2 separate regions of the Homo sapiens genome follow, and region 2 is linked to region 1. The links are contacts of gene promoters, found by promoter capture Hi-C in blood cells and fetal thymus (Javierre and others, 2016). All regions are on one chromosome and are shown on one strand. The core of a region is centred on a gene start or on the middle of the fragment in contact, and the rest is flanking DNA. Distances in the headings are between cores, read along the strand shown. Region 1 holds the start of OSR1 (odd-skipped related transcription factor 1). Region 2 overlaps GEN1 (GEN1 Holliday junction 5' flap endonuclease).

Region 1 (2,722 bases), core at 48-2,547:
AGCTCTTAGCCTGGGTGAAATTTACCAAATTGTGGCAACAAAGAAACCCTTGCGGCTACTTTACACATTGAGAACCCAACCCGCTACTGCCTGAGCTGCTGAAAAAGGACTAAACGTGGTTTTTCATTCTTCTCCGAGACATTTCCGAGGAGAAATTAGTTCAGCAGGCAGCCCTTCACCCCTTTCCCCCTTCTTTCTCTCCTGACGGCTGGATTAGCGGACAGTCAGGGGAGTAACAGAACTTTTCCTGTCCCCAGCCCGGAGACCCTAGGGCTCCACAGAGTTTCCACTAGTGCTGTGTGTGGGTCTCGAATTGGAAAGCAGTGCTTGCGCCCACTGCATTGCCTCCCTGCACCAGGACAATCAAGGGTTCCGCTCCAGGCCTTGACGACACAGAGCAATCATCCTATGGAGAATATCCCTAAGTTAGAGCGCGAGTGCAAGGCGGGGTTCAGACTCGCAGCCCTGCGCTCTCGGGTCTAGGCGGCCTCATACTAGAGCGCAACTCCTCAAAAGACAAACTTGAACGAAAGCGCTACCGAGCTGGGGCATGCACCTGTCCCTGGCGCGGTCGGCTGCGGCTGTGGCCATTCACTCCCTCTCCCTTCCTTCTTCGTCAACCTGGGCGTCAGCCAGAGCTAGGAGCGCGTCTCAGGAAAGTTTGTGCCCGCTGAAGTTGCTCTGGTTTCTTAAAGGGGGCCCACAGATTGACTTTCAAAGTCCGTGGGCACCTCGCCCGTGATTCCGCAGAGCCGGGCGGGCTGGCCGCAGTAGCGGAGGCCCGCCCCCCTTAATCCCCAGCGGTCAGAGGCCGAGGACCCCGCGCAGGAAGTCCTGAGGCAGCACCCCCAACCACCCTGCTCTCACTTTCACAAAAGTCCTACAGCATTCGTTTGGCAAGAGCTTCCTTCAGGGGCATTGAGAGAGAGGAGGCACCCGCCGAGCAGTGACAAGGAACCTGGGAGTCCTGCCCGCATTCGCTTTGCTGAGCCCAGGCGCCCAGGACTGCAATTACCTTGTTCCGCAGAGGTCCTGGGGCTGAGCACGTCTCTGGGGCTTTAGCTGAAGGGGACTGGGGAAGCCGGAGGCCCTGGAGCCCACAGGCGCCCCTGGAGCTCTAGTGTCCCGACTCCTCTCCTGCCGCGGGGACTCCAAGCGCCGGACACGCGGGAGCGAGCGCTCAGCAGCCCCGGATCCTGCACGCCGGGGACGGTGAGCCTCGCTCGCGGCTCCCTCGCTGGGTCTGAACCAGGAGCAGCTGAGAACGTGCCGGGGAGAGGCCGAGCTCCGACTCACTCATCCCTTAGCACCGAGCCGCCTACTTATTTTAATCCACCACCCTCCCTCCTCCACCACCCCCACCCCCGCCCCTTGCCTCAGGATTCCTCCCCTCCCTCCCCTGCCCCCCAACCCTGCCCTGCGCCTGCGCAATGAAAGACAAAGTTTTTGCTGACCCGGGCAGCAGACTTTGGCAGCTGCTCTCGCTTGGACCCGGCCTCTCCCAACCTGCGTCCCCTCCTCTTCAGTCCCGCGCGACCCCTGCTGCCTTTTTAGGTCCAGAGCGGCACGCCTGGCGCACTGGAGGAAACGGTCCCTAGCAGATGAGAGCGGGCTGGCACCGCACGTTTCGAGGTCCTATACTTGGGCTCCTAGGACACAGCCCGTGCTCTTTGGGAGGAGGGAGGGAGGGGCAGTAGCTCTGTGCACCGGGATCCCCACACCGCGGCTTGGGTTTCAACGCACTTTGGCGCCTGACAGAGTCGCATCTCCTCCCAGAATCTCTTTCCAGAGGCGGCAGACCCCGAGTGTGGAGCAGCTCCTGGCTATCCAAGCGTGCTCGGGGCCAGGGTGTTAACCCAGGCAGCGCTGGTTAATTCCTGGTGCGGGAGGGCCAGGGTCACCGAAGCAAGCGAGCTGTAACATCTGAGTGCTTATGGTTGACCCCAGACCCTAAGTTCTGGAGTCCAGTAGAAAGAACAAAGAGTAGGGAAAGGAGGTCAGGAAAGTTATTTTCCTGGGGCCCAGAACTCTCTGAGATTTCACCCCAATGCACAGTGGCACTCTCTACTTACATATTTGTTTTAGGATGGATCAGAGTTTAGAGAGCCGCACTGGCAAGCTAGACGAGCTGCAAAGTTGTCAGTTCCAGGGCCTCTGAGTCAAGGAGCTGGTTCAGGTGGAGTTTTTAATCGGAAAGGAATCAGAGTTCTGGACATTAAAAATTCTATCTTCATTGCCTAGGCATTATGGAGGGTACCATCACCCCCTTGACTACCCATCTCTGAAAGCTGACCTCCGGCTGACCCCAGCCCAATCCCTCCCTAATGCCTTTCTGGAATACCCTTCCAGGCCTTGGGTTTGGCAAGGAGGAGTCACTGGTTTCCTGGGACTTGTGTGGGTCCAGATCACACAACTGCACTCTCTGCCTTTGCCCCAGAGTTGCTGCTGAGTGACTCTTGGAGCTGGATCCTAGATTCCGTGGGTCCCTAAGTACTGTACTGCTTCTCTCCCGAGGAGCTTCTGCTATCTCCAGCTTTGGTTTGCAAAGCTAATCTGATTTTCTTGGGAGGTGAAGAAGGTTGTAATACCTGACCTAGGGAGATGGTAATGAAGACTCCCCTCCCTCAAAGGCATAGTTGAAAGAGGATTTCCTTATATCCCCAGGCCTTTAGAACAGAATCTAGCCTCTAACCCCTGGGTAACTTCGTCTTGTTTGAGGAGG
Region 2 (2,977 bases), core at 40-2,539, 1.6 Mb before region 1:
TTCTACCTCCAAAATATACTTTGTGTTCACAAACTTATCTCAGTGTCCAGAGGCACCACCTCAGTCTATGCCAACCTCATCTCTCATCTATACTCCTGAAGTGCCATCTTCACTAGTTTCTTGCTCTTGGCCTCCCCTACCCCAGACTATTTTCCACATAGCAATTAGAATAATCATAAATCTTTCTTGCTTAAAAATATTCAGTGGTTTGGCCGCGTGCAGTGGCTCACGCCTGTAATCCCAGCACTTTGGGAGGCCGAGGCAGGTGGATCACAAAGTCAGGAGTTTGAGACCAGCCTGGCCAAGATGGAGAAACCCCATCTCTACTAAAAATAAAAAAAAATTAGCTGGGTGTGGTGGCAGATGCCTGTAATCCCAGCTACTTGGGATGCTGAGGCAGGAAAATCACTTGAACCTGGGAGGTGGAGGTTGCAGTGAGCCGAGATCACACCACTGCACTCCAGCCTGGGCAACAGAGTGAGACTCCACCTCAAAAAAAAAAAAAAAATCAGTGGTTTTGGCCGGGCACAGTGGCTCACACTTGTATTCCTAGCACTTTGCGAGGCTGAGATGGGCGGATTATTTGAGCTCAGGAGTTCAAGACCAGCCTGGGCAACATGGTGAAACCCCATCTCTACAAAAAATACAGAAAATTAGCCGGGCATGGTGGCACACACCTGTAGTCCCAGCTGCTTGGGGACTGAGGCAGGAAGATCACTTGAGCCAGGAGATTGAGGCTGCACTGAGACAAGATCATGCCACTGCACTCCAGCCTGGGTGACAGAGTGAGACTCTGTCAAAGAAAAAGAAAATTCAGTGGTTTTCCACTCTAATTAAAGCTTAAGTAAAATGTTATTACATTAACGTTTTTGATACTAGTCTAATGTTCTTGCCTTTGTGTTATACTATTTTGACTTTTACTATCAGTGTTTGATGATTAATGTATTACTAATTTATATATTTCAGGAACTTATTTTTTCGTATCTCATATTTAACACAAATGGATGTAAAACTGGTATTTGTTATGGAAGGGGAACCACCAAAGCTGAAAGCTGATGTCATAAGCAAGAGGAATCAGTCTCGGTATGGGTCTTCTGGAAAATCGTGGTCTCAGAAAACAGGGAGATCACATTTTAAATCAGTCTTAAGAGAGGTGAGCATTCAGATTTGATTCAGTAATTCCGATTTGAATTAAAGGGTGCATTTTACTCTTAATAGTTTGTCATCTTTAATACTTATTAATTTTATTGTGACTAGCAGGGATGTGCCTAGAGAAAAGAGTTTATTTTTTAGAGTGAAATTGACCTGAGTTTCATTCTTGGCACTGGTATGTAGAAACTCTGAGACACTGAGCAAAATTTGTAACCTATCTCTACCTTGTATGTTACCTTGTGAAATGACAACAGTAATACTCAGCAGGGATGTGATAAAAATAAGAGAAAGTATATCTAAAGCAACTAGTACATGGTAGGAACTTGATCATATTACCTTTTATAACACCTTCAGGACTTAAAGAAGTCCCAGAATACATGAGATCTCATTAATTCGTACTTCACTCATTCAGAATTCATGATAGTTCATATACAGAATATATATTTGGCTTCCCTTAGGGCTTGTAATTTTAAAAACTGTCGTTACATTATAATATATTATTTATATGTTACTTTAATATTGCTATATTTTATATTTGTATGAAACTTAAGAAAGAAATCATCTATAGTATATAATTAAAACAATAGGAAGCTTTTTTTTTTCTGTTTTCTTTTTTTGGTTGTTTTTTTTTTTTTTTTGAGATGGAGTCTCGCTCTGTCACCCAGGCTGGAGTGCAGTGGCGCAATCTCGGCTCACTGCAAGCTCCGCCTCCTGGGTTCTCACCATTTTCCTGCCTCAGCCTCCCGAGTAGCTGGGACTACAGGCGCCCGCCACCACACCTGGCTAAGTTTTTTTTGTTTTTTTTTTAGTAGAGACAGGGTTTCACTGTGTTAGCCAGAATGGTCTCGATCTCCTGACTTCGTGATCCGCCTGCCTCGGCCTCCTGAAGTGCTGGGATTACAGGTGTGAGCCCCTGTGCCTGGCCTTTTTTGTCTGTTTTCAAATGTGTGTATTTTTAAAGAGTTGTAGTAGTACACATGATTTTTAACCTAGCCTTTTCACTTAATGCTTCATGTTGTCATATTTCCCTTTTGTCACATTCTAATCAAAATCATAACTTGTAGTGGTTGTGCAACATGTATGAAGCTATGAATCATACCCCTGATTGTATATGTTATTTACTTTTTTAGTTTTTCTCTACTATACATGGAAGTGTGATTAACATTTTTTGTGTATATAATGTTTTCTTGTGATTTGAAATTTTAGATAAAATTACCCAATGTTGGATTGATGGGTCAAAGTTTTGGAATGATTTTATTGCTCTTGCTGATTAATTTCTGCTAATGCAGATGTCAGAGAAGCAGTGTCGGTGCACTCACAAGAACATTGGATGTTAGGAGGCTTGTCTTTGTAATATTTAGTGTGCAACAACAAAGATATTTAATATGCATTTGTCTTTTAATAGTAATGTTAAACATTTCATCTATTTTTAGTCTCCCTTTGGGTAATGGCTATCATCATGTCCTTTACCTACTTACCTCTTGAGGTTTTAATTTTTCTTTTGTGCAAGTTCTTTATGTATTAAGGATATAAGCTTCTATCATATTTGCTTTGAATTTGTTTTTCTTTTTAATTTTAGTTAAAAAATTATGCCATTTTTCTCCTCTTCTGAAATTTTATTTTCTACTCACTTTTAAAAATAGTTTTCAATTAGTGAATATTCCACCCTAATGACTATCAGCAGTTGAAGAAAATATCTGTGCTAAGTTCTAATTACTTCTTGTATAATCAATTCCTGGAAATATTCATGGTCCTCAATCTTAGAGTGTTAAAGAACCAGCATAAAACAAAAAAAGAGATGTCCATCTCTTCTTAAGAAAATTGC

What was found. Contacts are between HindIII fragments. The CHiCAGO score rates a contact against its expected background, and 5 or more counts as called.
Region 2: a fragment that was not itself captured here is called in contact with the fragment with the promoter of OSR1 in region 1 in 1 of 17 cell types (activated CD4 T cells); the score reaches 7.4 in activated CD4 T cells.

Annotation. Positions count from the first base shown.
Region 1 is chr2:19,357,326-19,360,047 of GRCh38, forward strand. OSR1 (odd-skipped related transcription factor 1) reads right to left here and starts at 1,298. Exons shown (of 3, transcript NM_145260.3): 1 at 1,016-1,298. RefSeq lists an enhancer at 642-1,170. The HindIII fragment of the contact is 8,359 bases long and covers 1-2,722 here.
Region 2 is chr2:17,760,430-17,763,406 of GRCh38, forward strand. GEN1 (GEN1 Holliday junction 5' flap endonuclease) reads left to right here. Exons shown (of 14, transcript NM_001130009.3): 3 at 967-1,153. Among named protein-coding and RNA genes, the nearest start is that of GEN1, 7.8 kb to the left of the region's middle. The HindIII fragment of the contact is 904 bases long and covers 838-1,741 here.